5 separate regions of the Homo sapiens genome follow, and all the other regions are linked to region 5. Evidence: promoter capture Hi-C in human tissues and cell types (Jung and others, 2019). All regions are on one chromosome and are shown on one strand. The core of a region is centred on a gene start or on the middle of the fragment in contact, and the rest is flanking DNA. Distances in the headings are between cores, read along the strand shown.

The links. Contacts are between HindIII fragments. The study calls those that stand out against the background at their distance.
Region 1: a fragment that was not itself captured here is called in contact with the fragment with the promoter of SLCO3A1 in region 5 in 2 of the 25 tissues and cell types used here (bladder and mesendoderm cells).
Region 2: a contact is called between a fragment that was not itself captured here and the fragment with the promoter of SLCO3A1 in region 5, in 1 of the 25 tissues and cell types used here (dorsolateral prefrontal cortex).
Region 3: a fragment that was not itself captured here is called in contact with the fragment with the promoter of SLCO3A1 in region 5 in 2 of the 25 tissues and cell types used here (hippocampus and thymus).
Region 4: a contact is called between a fragment that was not itself captured here and the fragment with the promoter of SLCO3A1 in region 5, in 2 of the 25 tissues and cell types used here (mesendoderm cells and thymus).

What each region holds. Positions count from the first base shown.
Region 1 is chr15:91,452,045-91,454,814 of GRCh38, forward strand. The region is part of intron 2 of LOC107984778 (a long non-coding RNA gene); the gene reads right to left. Among named protein-coding and RNA genes, the nearest start is that of CRAT37, 9.9 kb to the right of the region's middle. The HindIII fragment of the contact is 7,286 bases long and covers 1-2,770 here.
Region 2 is chr15:91,398,023-91,400,869 of GRCh38, forward strand. No RefSeq gene overlaps it. Among named protein-coding and RNA genes, the nearest start is that of CRAT37, 64 kb to the right of the region's middle. The HindIII fragment of the contact is 5,816 bases long and covers 1-2,847 here.
Region 3 is chr15:91,573,316-91,576,015 of GRCh38, forward strand. No RefSeq gene overlaps it. Among named protein-coding and RNA genes, the nearest start is that of CRAT37, 110 kb to the left of the region's middle. The HindIII fragment of the contact is 7,693 bases long and covers 1-2,700 here.
Region 4 is chr15:91,343,890-91,346,589 of GRCh38, forward strand. No RefSeq gene overlaps it. Among named protein-coding and RNA genes, the nearest start is that of CRAT37, 120 kb to the right of the region's middle. The HindIII fragment of the contact is 7,776 bases long and covers 1-2,700 here.
Region 5 is chr15:91,852,439-91,855,138 of GRCh38, forward strand. SLCO3A1 (solute carrier organic anion transporter family member 3A1) reads left to right here and starts at 1,270. Exons shown (of 10, transcript NM_013272.4): 1 at 1,270-1,650. The coding sequence starts at 1,471. RefSeq lists silencers at 692-866, 735-874. The HindIII fragment of the contact is 13,420 bases long and covers 1-2,700 here.

The DNA of each region.
Region 1 (2,770 bases), core at 163-2,662, 400 kb before region 5:
GATTTTTTTTTATTGTTCTGTGAAGAACTGGAAAAGGTGGTATTGTGATGGGAATTCCATTAAATTTGTAGATTGCTTTTGTCAGTATGGTCATTTTCACAATATTGATTCTACCTATCCATGAACAAGGGACATGTTTCCATTTGTTTGTGCTGTCTCTGATTTCTTTCAGCAGGGTTTTGTAGTTTTCTTTGTAGAGGTCTTTCACCTCCTTGGTTAGGTGTATTCCCAAGTTTTTGTTGTTGTTGTTTTGTTTTTTTTTGCCGCTATTGTAAAAGGGGTTGAGTTCTTGGTTTGATTCTCAGCTTGGTCGCTATTGGTGTACAGGACAGCTGCTGATTTGTGTACATTAATTTTGTATCCAGAAACTTTGCTGGAGTTCTAGGAGCTTTTTGGAGGAGTCTTTAGGGTTTTCTAGGTATACAATCATACCATCAGCAGAGACAGTTTGACTTCCTCTTTACTGATTTGGATGCACTTTATTTCTTTCTCTTGTCTGATTGCTCTTTTTAGAACTTCAAGTACTTATGTTGAAGAGAAGTAGTGAGATTGGGCATCCTTGTCTTGTTCCAGTTCTCAGAGTGAATGCTTTGAACTTTTCCCCATTTAGTATTATGTTGGCTGTGGGTTTGTCATAGATGGCTTTTATTACATTGAGTTATGCCTCTTGTATGCCGATTTTGCTGAGAGTTTAAATCATAAAGGGATGCTGGATTTTGTTTAATTTGCTGTGTCTATTGAGATGATCATGTGATTTTTGTTTTTAATTCTGTTTATGTGGTGTATCACATTTATTGATTTGTATATGTTAAATCATTCCTGCATCTCTGGTATAAAACCCACTTGGTCATGGTGGATTATCTTTTTGATATGTTGTTGGATTAGGTTAGCTAGTATTTTGTTAAGGATTTTTGCATCTATGTTCAACAGGGATATTGGTCTGTAGTTTTCTTTTTTGTTTATGCCTTTCCTGGTTTTTGTATTAGGGTGATAGCGGCTTCATAGAATGATTTAGGGAGGATTCCCTCTTTGTCTTGTGGAATAGTGTCAATAGGATTGGTACCAATTCTTCTTCGAATGTCTGGTAGAATTCAGCTTTGAAACCATCTGGTCCTGGATTTTTCTTGTTGTTGTTGTTGTTAATTTTTAAATTACCATTTCAATCTCACTGCTTATTATTGGTCTGTTCAGGGTATCTAATTCTTTCTGATTTAAGCTAGGAGGTTAGTATCTTTCCAGGAATTTATCCGTCTCATCTAGGTTTTCTAGTTTTTGTACATAAAGGTGTTTATAGTACACTTGAATGATCTTTTGTATTTCTGTGGTCAGTTGCAGTATCTCCTGTTTTGTCTCTAGTTGAGCTTATTTGGATTTTCTCTCTTCTTTTCTTGGTTAATCTTGCTAATGGTCTATCAATTTTATTTATCTTTTCAAAAAACCAGCTTTTTGTTTCACTTTCGTATTTTTTTTTGTTTGTTTCCATTTCATTTAGTTCTGCTCTGATCTTATTTCCTTTCTTCTGCTGGGCTTGGGTTTGGTTTGTTCTTTTTTCTCTAGCTCCTCGAGGTGTGACCTTAGATTGTCTGTTTGTGCTCTTTCAGACTTTTTGATGTATGCATTTAGGGCTATGAACTTTCCTCTTACACCTTTGCTATATCCCAGATGTTTTGATACGTTATGTCACTATTGTAATTTAGTTTGAAGAGATTTTTAATTTCCATCTTGATTTCATTGTTGACCCAATGATCGATCATTCAGGAGCAGATTATTTAATTTCCATGTATTTGCATGGTTTTGAAAGTTCCTTTTAGAGTTGATTTCCGGTTTTATTCCACTGTGGTCTGAGAGAGTGCTTGATATAATTTCAATTTTATTAAATTTATTGAGGCTTTTTTATAGCCTATCATATGGTCTATCTTGGAGAAAGTCCCATGAGCTGATGAGTAGAATGTATATTCTGAGGTTTGTGGGTAGAATGTTCTGTAAATATGTTAAGTTCATTTATTCCAGGGTATAGTTTAAATCCATTTTTTTTGTTGACTTTCTGTCTTGATGACCTGTCTAGTGCTGTCAGTGGAGTATTGAAGTCCCCCACTATTATTTTGTTGCTGTCTATTTCATTCCTTAGGTCTAGTAGTAAATTTGGGAGCTTCAGTGTTAGATGCATATATATTTAGGATTGTGATATTTTCCTGTTGGACAAGGCCTTGTATCATTACATAATGATGTCCTTCTTTGTCTTTTTTAACTGCTGTTGCTTTAAAGTTTGCTTTGCCTGATATAAGAATAGCTACCCCTGCTTGCTTTTGGTGTGCATTTGTATGGAATATCTTTTTCCACCCCTTTAAGTTTATGTGAGTCCTTAAGTGTTAGGTGAGTCTCTTGAAGGCAGCAGATGGTTGGTGAATTCTTATTCATTCTGCAATTCTGTTATCTTTTAAGTGGTGCATTTAGGCCATTTATATTCAATGTTAGTATTGAGATGTGAGGCACTATTCCATTCATCATGCTATTTGTTGCCTGTATACTTTTTTTTTAATCTTTAATTGTATTTTTGTTTTATAGGTCCTGTGTGATTTATGCTTTAAAGAGGTACTGTTTTGATGTGTTTCCAGGATTTGTTTCAAGATTTAGAGCTCCTTTTAGCATTCTTGTAGTGCTGGCTTGGTGTAGTGGCAAATTCTCTCCGCATTTGTTTCTCTGAAAAAGACTGTATCTTTCCTGCATTTATGAAGCTTAGTTTTGCTGGATACAAAATTCTTGGCTGATA
Region 2 (2,847 bases), core at 119-2,618, 450 kb before region 5:
TTGTTTTTAAATTCATTCAGCCATTCTACGTCTTTTGATTGGGTAAAGTAACCCATTTATACTTAAAGTATACTGTTTCCATTTTGTTAATTGTTTTCTTACTATTTTGTAGTTTCTTTGTCCTGTTACTCCTCTCTTGCTGGTCTTCCTTTCTGATTTGATAATTTTTTTTGTGATGGTATGCTTTGAGTTATTTCTCTTTATGTTTTGTGTTTCTACTACAGGCTTTTTCCTTTGTGCTTACCATAAAGCTTACATAAAACATCTTATAGTTACAACAATCTATTTTAAACTCATAACAACTTAACTTCAACTACATATAAAAAATCTACATGTTAACTTTTCCTCCTTCCACATTTTATGTTACCGAGGTCACAATTTACATCTTTTTATATAGTGTATTCATTAACAAACTATTGTAGCTGTATTTTTTTTGTGACTGTCTTTTAACTTTTATACTAGTCTTAGAAGGGATTTATATATCACCATTACCATATCAGAGTATTATGAATTTGAGTATATTCTTATCTTTACAGTGAGTATTATATTTTTATATGCTTTTGTGTTGTTAGCATCCTTTTGTTTCAACTTTAAGAACCCTTTTTAACATTTCTCATAAAGCAGGTCTAGTGTTAACAAACTACATCAGCTTTTGTTTGTCTGAGAAAGTCCTTATCTCTCCTTTGTTTCTGAAGGCCAGCTTTACTGGGCATAGTATTATTTTTTTTCTTTCACTATTTTAATATACATTATTCCAATTTCTCCTGGATGCAAGGTTTCAGCTGCAAAATCCACTGATAATCTTATGAGGGCTTTCCTTTTATGTGATGAGTCACTTTTCTCTTGCTGCTTTCAAAATTCTTTGTCTATTTTGAGAATTTGATTATATAATATGTCTTGGCAAAAACTATTTTATGTTTAATTTATTTAGGGTTCTTTGGGCTTCACGGATCTGTATGTTTATTTCCCTCTTTAGATTTGAAAAGTTTTATATTCATTAGAGAAGTTCCTTTCTCTGCTCCTTCTGGAACTTCTATAATGAGTATATTGCTTTGCATAGTAGTGTACTATATTTCTATATTATTTCTTCAATTTTTAAGTTTTTTCCTTATTATTTCTCTGACCGAGTACTTTCGAGTGACTTATCATTGAGTTCATTGATTCTTCCTTCTTATTGGTTGAGTCTGAAGTTGAAGCTCTATGTGGAATTTTTAAGTTCATCCATTGTGTTCTTCAGCTCCAGAATTTCTATTTTTTTTAATGGTTCCTATATTTTTGTTGAATTTTTAATTTTGTTTATGTATTGTTTTTCTGGCTTCATGTAGTTGTCTACCTGTATTATAGCTCACTGAACTTTTTTGAGATGATTATTTTGAATTATTTGTTAGGCAGTTCATACATCTTTATTTTTTTAGGGTTGGTTACTGGTGCTTAATTTTGTTCCTTTGATAGCGTCATGTTTCTCTGATTAATTGTGGTCCTTATAGCCTCGTAATGATGTCTGTACATTTGAAAAAGAGCCAGCTTTTTCATTCTTGACAGATTGCTTTTGGCAGGGAAAGCCCTTCACCAGTCAGCACATCCAGAGATTCTGGGTGGTTCAGCTAGCAGGGTTCATGGGTGAACTTGCTGCTGAAGTCCTTGTACATGTTGGTCTGGTGCCTAGGTCCACAGGGTCTGATCTGTTACCTGAGTCTGTGGGGTTGTGTCTAGAGCTTGGGTCCATGGGTATAGGCCTGGGTTCTGGGTCCATGAGGTCTGGTACGGCACTGGGGACTCTTGAGGTGGGCCTGATGACTGGATCCATGGGGACAGGCCTGGAACCTGAGTCTGTGTGGGTGGCCCTGGGAGCTGGGGCCATGAGGGCCAGCCTGGCATTGGGGTTGGCCTGGGGCCTGGCTGGGGCTATAGGGACCAGCCAGGTGTTGAAGTGAGTTTGGATCCTGGGCTGCAGTGGGTGGCCTGGTGCTGAGATGGGTCTGGAGCCTGGAGCCGTGGATACTGACTTCATGCTGGGGTTCACTGTGGTGGGCCTGGTGCTGAGTCCATGAAAACAGGCCCAGAGCCTGAGTCTATAGTGACCAGCGTGGAGCCTAGGGCAGCCATAAATGGCCTGGTTCTGGGGAAGGCCTGGAGCCTATGTTCATAAGAGCTATGGAGGTTGGAGCCATTGGGTCTTAGAGCCGTAAGGGGACAGCCTGGAGCTTGGGTTTACAGGGACTGTCCTGTAGCCTGTGGCTATAGGAACCTGCCTGGTGTTGAGTTCACTGAATCGTGCCTGGCATTGGAGTCCATGAAGTCAGGTGTTAACTTTACTCTCCTTCCCCCACATATATAGTATCTCTTTCCATGTTGCACTGCCCAGGTTTTGGGGCAGGGTAATGCAGATAATATGAAACTGTCTTTTCTACTCTCTTTAATGCACCTTTTCTTATTTCTCTGCTCCACAAAGGTGCTATAACCTCTCAGCTGGATTCCTTGTCTCTTATGAAGATATTTTCATGCACAGATGGCTGTTCAAATTGATGTTTCTGTGAAGGGATAAGTGCTGAAAACTTCTGTTTTGCCATTTTGCTCATGTCATTCTCCTCCGTTAACTTAAAAATATTTTTTGCTGCACTTTCTTGAATAACATATTGTTGAAAATTATCAGACCCTTGGCTTGGTTGTTGAAGTTCCTCCTTTAGAGCAAGTTCCTCTTATAGTTCTCTGTAGACACACTATAGTTGTAAAATGTTTGTAGAGATAATATTTTGTGTGTAGAATTAAGGACAAATTACACACAAATGTTTAGTGGGCAGTATTAGTAAGAAGATCTATTGCATTAGAAAAGGGAGAAGTATCAAG
Region 3 (2,700 bases), core at 140-2,639, 280 kb before region 5:
ACGCGCCAGTGCACTCCAGCCTGGGTGACGGAGTGAGACTCTGTCTCGAGAAAGAAGGAAGGAAAGAAGGAAAGAAAGAAGGAAAGGAAGGAAGGAAGGAAAAGGAGGGAGGAAGGAAGGAAGAGAAAGAAGGAGGGAGGAAGGGAGGAAGGAAGGGGAAGAAAGAGAGAAAGAAAAGAGAGAGAGAGAAAGAAAGAAAGAGGTCAAAGAGTTCTGCATTTCCCTGACTTCATTCTCTAGTAGATCCTAAGCCCTTTTCTTTAAATAAAGCCCTTCATCTGCCCTAGAAAGGATAAAGATGAAAGAAAACTCTGTTGGCAGTATGGTTGATATTGCAGAGCAGTGGGAAAAGTAGTGAAGCTAATTTTGAGGAAAAACGCTTTTCATAAAAGAAGGAAAAACATGCAGGCCAAACTGATGACACTAGACCAGGTGGAGAGAGATAAAGTCAGTACAATACAAGAAAGGCAGGTTTGACTTAAGATGGCGAATGAAACCTGCTGATCAGGTAAAGTTGAGGATATTGGACCTTGTGCAGTGACGGAGAATGTCACCACAATACTCCTAGTGGTGTCTCAAACAGGAGAAATTACGGGAGAATACTTACAGAAGTTTAGAGCCTGGGCTGAACAGTTTTAAGGAAGATCTGCAAGATGAGGAACTGGTTGGGACTGGGCATAGCTTAGGGCTTAACAGCTTTTTGGATTGGTCGGCATAGCATGGTCGCCTGAAGTGAACCTAATAAGCAAGTTGTAAGCCTTGACCAAAAACGCAAACAAAATTAAGGAACTCAGACAGGTGTGGTGGCTCATTCCTGTAACCCCAGCACTTTGGGAGGCTGAGGCAGGAGGATTGCTTGAGCTCAGGAGTTCGAGACCAGCCTGAACAACATGGCAAAACCCATTTCTACAAAAAATACAAAAATTACCCAGGCGTGGTAGTGCATGCCTGTAGTCCCAGTTACTCTGGGGGCTGAGGTGGGAGGATCACTTGAGCCCAGGAGGTCAAGGCTGCAGTGAGCCATAATTGCACCACTGCACTCCAGCCTGGATGTTGAAAGGAGACCCTGTCTCAGTAAATAAATAAATAAATATTAAAAAAATTAAGGAACTCATTTACAATATGCTTCCTAATATTTTAGATTACCTAGTTTGATTTAAAAAATAGATCTCTAATGGTTCAAACATTTCTAAAATCTGATTTAAGATGAGTGTCAAAGAGCAAAGGCACAACTACAATGCTGAAATATTTTAAATTCATCATCAGCTCATCCTCTAAATTCTGTAGTTTATTTACCCTGAGTATATGTATGATACAGTTGACCCTAGCAGCAGGCTCCGCATCCATGGATTCAACCAGCAGTAGATCAGAAATATTCAAAAAAAAATAACAATGCAACAATAAAAATAATATACATTTGAAAACAATACAGTGCAACAACTATTTACATTGTATCACATAGTAAAGTAATCTGCAGATGATGTAAGTATGTATAGGAGGATGTACATAGATTATACTCAAATGTTAGGGCATTTTATATAAATGACTTAAGCATCTGTAGATTTTGGTATCTGCAGGGGATCCTGGAACCAATCATCTGTGGATACTGAGAGACAACTGTATGTATAAATTTTGTGAACTCCATCTTATTTTTGATTGATAGAATATCACTGCTTACTTTGAAATGATTATGCATTACTTTAATCACAACCAATTCCAGAATATTTCTGTTCATTGGTGCCTTCATGTAGAACAATATTTTTAATAATGCTTTCCACCACCAAAATTTGTATTTGTAGTATTATCTCAAAAACCAACAACTTTTCCATCAATGTTTAATTTTAAAATTGACTTTACAATGCACTTACGAGAATTTAAAATGATTCACTTTTGATAGGATGCATTTCAAAAAGCTTTGTTACAATTTCATAAATTAGGTGGAAAAATTGAACCGCTTAAGGACTCACCCCAACTCATTTTCTATTTGAAGCATCTCATGCTTGCAAAGGTCTTCTTCTATTAATGGTATTAACACATTAACAGCTGTTGCTTTACTTTTTTATAGGCACAAGAAAAGTTGGAATAAAAGTAAGAAAAATTATTTCAGAAGTGTCTAAGCTAAATGTGATTATTTTGTTTGATCTGAATGAGAAATCATGCTTCAGTGTGATATGTAAATACACTGTGTGCAGAGTGGCACATGGTAATAACTTGTCTGCAGGTACAGTCTTCTTAAAATAGAATCTTCAATTGATCCTAAAGGTTCAAGTTTGTTGCAGCTGGAAAAATATGTAGATTTAATTATTTGCATTTGTGTCCCACATACTAGAAGCCATGAGTGAAGGTGAAGATACAAAGTGAAAAATCTATTAAATCCACCCAGCTTATGTTGCTGTAACTGTTAATAATAATACTTTATGAGAAAATGAAGTCTGGGCAAACACAAAAATAGACAAGACCTCAGGACGACAGAGATAAACTGAAATTATTCTAGGAAAACCAGATTATGTGGTCGCCCTACCTCCACCTCCACCTTGATCCATCTCTCTCCAAAAAAGGTCTCCTTTTCTCTACAGATCTGAATAAGATGGCCCATCCTCTTGCCTTACAAAAGCCCAATGCCCTTTCCAAAATGTTTCTGGATACCATGGCCTTGCATTCTCATGGTCACCTCTAGCCCTAAATTTCTGATTCTTCTGA
Region 4 (2,700 bases), core at 81-2,580, 510 kb before region 5:
AGTTATCTCATGTCAGCTTTCCTTTCTCAAGGTACTGAAAGAAGACACGTTTCACTGCTTTCTAAAGAACTTCTGACTGGGCATGAAGGAGTGAACCAACTGATCAGGAAATTGCCAGTCTTCAAAAGGCCTCATTGCCAGTGGAAAGAGGAGAAACAGAAAAAAATGACCCTGCAGAAAGCAAATGCTCTGATGATTCATGCATTATTTGCAATTTTTTTGAATAAGAGCTAAAAACTAAACACTACTTGAGGCTGGGAATTTCTCTGGGGGAAAGAATAAAGAGTTATTTCCCTCTCAGGACAACACCTAATATTTGCACAGCACGGTAAAGTAATTTTCACAAGTATTATTTTGTTTGTGCATTTTCATCCTCAGGCTGAATTAAGCCTCAGTTTTCATTTTTGATTGAATCTGTCTTTGCTGATAGAAGTTTTCTGGGTGACCCAGACAGTCCTCAGTATGAGATAATGTGATGGAGGATGCAGTGAATCAATCACGTCTCTGCTGGAATTGCTTTCTGGAGACTTTGAGATGTCAGGGTTGAAATGTCACACAGGAGGTCACTGGGCTGGTAGATAACTGGAGATATGACTCCATGAAGGCATTGCTTATCCATGTTCCAAGCATATCTGGCTTCTTTTGAGAGGTAAATAGGGATGGATGAAGAGGAGGAGAGTTAGTCCTGAATTTGTACCCTGGCTCTGCCACTTACCAGCTCTACTGCTCTTGCTAGGGAGATCATGTTAACATATTAACGCCAATAATAATCACTGAAGGTTATGAGTCCTATAAAGTAAGTAGCATTCGCCCTATTTTATAGAAGAGGATACAGCATCAGAAAAGTTAATTGCTTTCCCTAAGTTCCCTGGGCACATTTATTTCTTTATTTTTATTTTTTCATTATACTTTAAGTTCTGGGGTACATGTGCACAACATGCAGGTTTGTTACACATGTATACATGTGCCATGTTGGTGTGCTGCACCCATTAACTCGTCATTTACATTAGGTATTTCTCCTAATGCTTCCCACCCACCTCCCCCACCTCATGACAGGCCCCGGTGTTTAATGTTCCCCACCCTGTGTTCAAATGTTCTCATTGTTCAATTCCCACCTATGAGCGAGAATATGTGGTGTTTGTTTTTCTGTCCTTGTGATAGTTTGCTCAGAATGATGGTTTGCAGCTTCATCCACATCCCTACAAAGGACATGAACTCATCCTTTTTCATGGCTGCATAGTATTCCATGGTGTTTATGTGCCACATTTTCTTAATCCAGTCTATCACTGATGGACATTTGGGTTGCTTCCAAGTCTTTGGTATGGTGAATAGTGCCACAATAAACATACGTGTGCATGTGTCTTTATAGCAGCATGATTTATAATCCTTTGGGTATATACCCAGTAATGGGATTGCTGGGTCAAACGGTATTTCTAGTTCTAGATCCTTGAGGAATCTTCCACAGTGGTTGAACTAGTTTACAGTCCCACCAACAGTGTAAAAGTGTTCCTATTTCTCCACATCCTCTGCATCACCTGTTGTTTGCCGACTTTTTAATGATCGCCATTCTAACTGGTGTGAGATGGTATCTCATTGTGGTTTTGATTTGCATTTCTCTGACGGACGGTGATGATGAGCATTTTTTCGCGTGTCTGTTGGCTGCATAAATGTCTTCTTTTGAGAAGTGTTTGTTCATATACTTCGCCCACTTTTTATGGGGTTGTTTGATTTATTCTTGTAAATTTGTTTAAGTTCTTTGTAGATTCTGGATATTAGCCCTTTGTCAGATGGGTAGATTGTAAAAATTTTCTCTCATTCTGTAGGTTGCCTGTTCACTCTGATGGTGGTTTCTTTCGCTGTGCAGAAGCTCTTTAGTTTAATTCGATCCCGTTTGTCTATTTTGGCTTTTGTTACCATTGATTTTGGTGTTTTAGTCATGAAGTCCTTGTCCCTGGGCACATTTATTAGCTGAATGCAAACTCAGGCTTTGTGATGCCACACCCTGTGAGTACTCCATCACATCATCACTGTCTTCCCCAAATGGGTGTGGCCATATAATTGGACGCAAGAGAGACCCATTGTTAAGGAATGTCAGCCACATCAAGAAGTGGTTTGAGCTCCCAGCATACTGCCCAAAAGTAAAGCTCACAGGTATTCTGTTGAGTGGTTTGCATAACTAAAAAAGACGGGGTGATAGTGCTTTGATGTTGGCCAATAACAACAAGACCCTTCTGTTCTCTTTTGTCCTATATTCTCTCTCAAATTCTGTGCTCTGATTAGTGGCTGAATCTCTTGTTTCTACCAAATGATTTAATTCATGTAAACAAGCATATTTTTATGTAGCATTGCCTCTGCCTCTGAAAACTTAGGGAAGTAACATCGTTCCAATTATTGGTTAAAAAAAGGGAGAGCAGAGCCATCTTCCATAAGATTATTGGAGAGATTACTGTGACAATGTGTTTATAGTGCTTAACACAGTGCTGGGACAGAATAGCACCTGTTTTCAGTCATAACTATTATTGGTGCAGTTTGAAACTAGCTGTGCTTGCAAGTACATCACTTGGCCTCAAACCTTCACAACTAGCTGCCAATGTATCTGCAGCAACACCCAGCTCCAATGCACACAATTTCTAAAGTGTCTGACGTCAGGGTTTTGGATGTGATGATTGCTCACTTCTTTCTCTTTCTCAGAATGGTCTC
Region 5 (2,700 bases), core at 20-2,519:
TGAGCCTGCATTTGGACACAGGCGCTTGGGAGAGTGGGTCATTTTCTTTGACACAATTATTAAGGAAACCGTTTTAAATGATTCCTTGAGTCCCCCAATGGCCCAGGTGGAAGGTGCTGTTTCCTGGTACCTGTCCAGCCCTCTGAGCTTTTCTCTCAGCTTCCAAACGCTGCAGTTGAGAACTAGCAGATCCTATTGGTAGTGCCCTGTGGCCCACACTCCTTGGTAACGGTGAGAGTGGGGAGTAATTAGGAGCGGCTGCCATGGGCCAGGCATTCAGGTCAAGGCCGAGGATGGTGGCCAGGGCCACAGAGCCAGGGGACGGGTGGGGACCCAGCAGGCCTGCGGCTGGCCGCTTGCTGAGCGCTCCAGCAGCGGGGCCCTGGGCGGATGAAGGGCCGGAGAAGGCCCTCTGCTGGGGCCGCGGCGATCTTGCAGCGCCTGGACACCGAGGCTGGGGCACTAACGGTCCGTGGGGCTCCCGACGTATTCCTCTAACTTCCCCTTTCTGTCCTTTCGGTCTGGGGCCTTTTCAACACCCCCTGTGGCCGGGGACAGCTGGGGCAGAAACCGGCAGGCGGCAGAAGCCTCAAGCAGCTCTGACCTCTGGCACCTCCCCAAGACCCAGAGCACAACATCTGTCCCCAGAAATCCCCGGGCGGAGAAGAGCGCGCGCCAAGCCCTTCCTGGGTACTCAGTATTCTCCCTTCCTGGGAACAGCCTGCCCTCTGAGGCCTGGGCACCCGGGTTCCCGAGCGCCGGGTCCCAGCCCCGCGGGGGCGCCTCCGCACCCCATCTCCGCGCCCGGCGCAGAGCCGCCAGTCTCCGCCGCGGGGCCCCGTGCCCCGCAGCGCCACCTAGGGGCCGGGCGCCGCCTCCCGCCCTCAGGGGCACCCCCCTTACTCCGCAAGGACTCCGGGTCTCCCCAGTTCTCCCGGCAGCCGGACCCTCCCAGCCTCGGCCGCCGGGCCGCCCTCCGCATCCCAAGCCCGCCTCCCGTGCCTCCCCGGGGGCGCACCGGCAGCGAGGAGCGGCTCGGCGAGGGCGCGCAGCGGCGGCCCAGGCCCAGGCCTTGGGGCTGGGGCTGAGGGGGTGAGAGCAGGCGCGGCCGGCGGGCAAGGGGAACCGGGCGATGGCAGCGGCGGGCGGCCGCGGGAGGCGAGGCAGCGGCGGCGGCGGGCGGCGCGACGAGCCCCTGTGATTGGCACAGCCGGAGCCGGAGGAGGAGGCCAGGGGAGGGCGGAGGCGGGGGAGGAGGAGGAGGAAGGGGCGATCGCGGCGGCGGCGGCGGCGGCGAGGAGCTGTGCCTTCCACCTCTCCAGCCCCGGCAGGACGGGGGCGGCCGCCGCGAACCCGGGGCGGGGACAGCACGCAGCCTCGAGGCGCGCACCCCCGCCCGGCAGCGGCCCCGACACCCGGGGCGAGCGGGAAAGCGGCAGCGGCGGCGGCGGCGGCGGCGGCGGGGGAAGGATGCAGGGGAAGAAGCCGGGCGGTTCGTCGGGCGGCGGCCGGAGCGGCGAGCTGCAGGGGGACGAGGCGCAGAGGAACAAGAAAAAGAAAAAGAAGGTGTCCTGCTTTTCCAACATCAAGATCTTCCTGGTGTCCGAGTGCGCCCTGATGCTGGCGCAGGGCACGGTGGGCGCCTACCTGGTGAGTCCCCGAGCCAACTCCGCCGCGGGCCCCTTCCCCAGCCCGGCTCTCGAGCGGCCGCCTGGCCCGACGAGGGGGCCGCCCGGCGCTGGGGGCAGGCGGGCATGACCTCGGCCCGGCGTGGAGGTTGGCGAGTGGTGCAGAGGCGGCCGCCGGGGGAGCTGCCGGCCGGGGCTGCCAGCGAGCGGGTAGCGGGCGGGACCGTTGATGCCGGTAGCAGCTCGCGCGCGTCCGGCTGGGGCAGGGGGTGCCGGGGGAGGAGAGGCGGCGGGCAGGTGGGCGTGAAACTATTCCTCTCCCCCCATAAGAGCGGAGCGAGACGGTGAGTTCAGGGTTCTCCTTGGAGAGGAACGAAAAAGCGTCGGGGTTTTCAGGTGACCTGCACATGGGAAGAAAAACCAGTTAGCATCCTGCGTCCTCTACTCTCCATTGCATCCTCCTCGAGAACAAATCTATTATGCATCATTTTCTCCGGGCGCTTTCTACATCCGCCAATTACAGGGGGATATAACAGCTTAGAGTGAAATGCGCCCTAGTGTGGCCCTGGCCTGAGCCGGGGCTGCAGGGGGAATATTGCCACCCGGTATCCCTATAGCCCTCTTTGAGCGTCTGGGATAAAGTTACGGTACCTAGAGAGCAGCTGCGAGTTTGTGTAGTTCCTGCTATCCACTCTTAGTGCTAAATTCCCCATCGTGGTCTGTCGCCTACAGAAGGTTGCACCATTTTCCACAATGAATATGTATTTTATTTGCCTCCAGAAAGGGGATGTTAATGCTCAGAGGGCCCATGGGTGCGTAACATTTCAGAGGAAACAGCTTGTAATGACTCAGCACTGTCAGGTACCTACTTTGTCGCTTTCGCCTCCTCTGCTCAGGTGGTCGCAACTTGAGTTCCAGAGAGCGTGCTTCCACACCTAAGTACAGTCCTGTCTAAACGGGAAATTTTTTTTGAGAGTTTATAGTGTTAAATCATTACTTGGCTATTGACCCGCAACTGGAATCAAATGTCATAGACTTTGAGTATTCCTGAGCAAGTTTGATGGAGATAGAA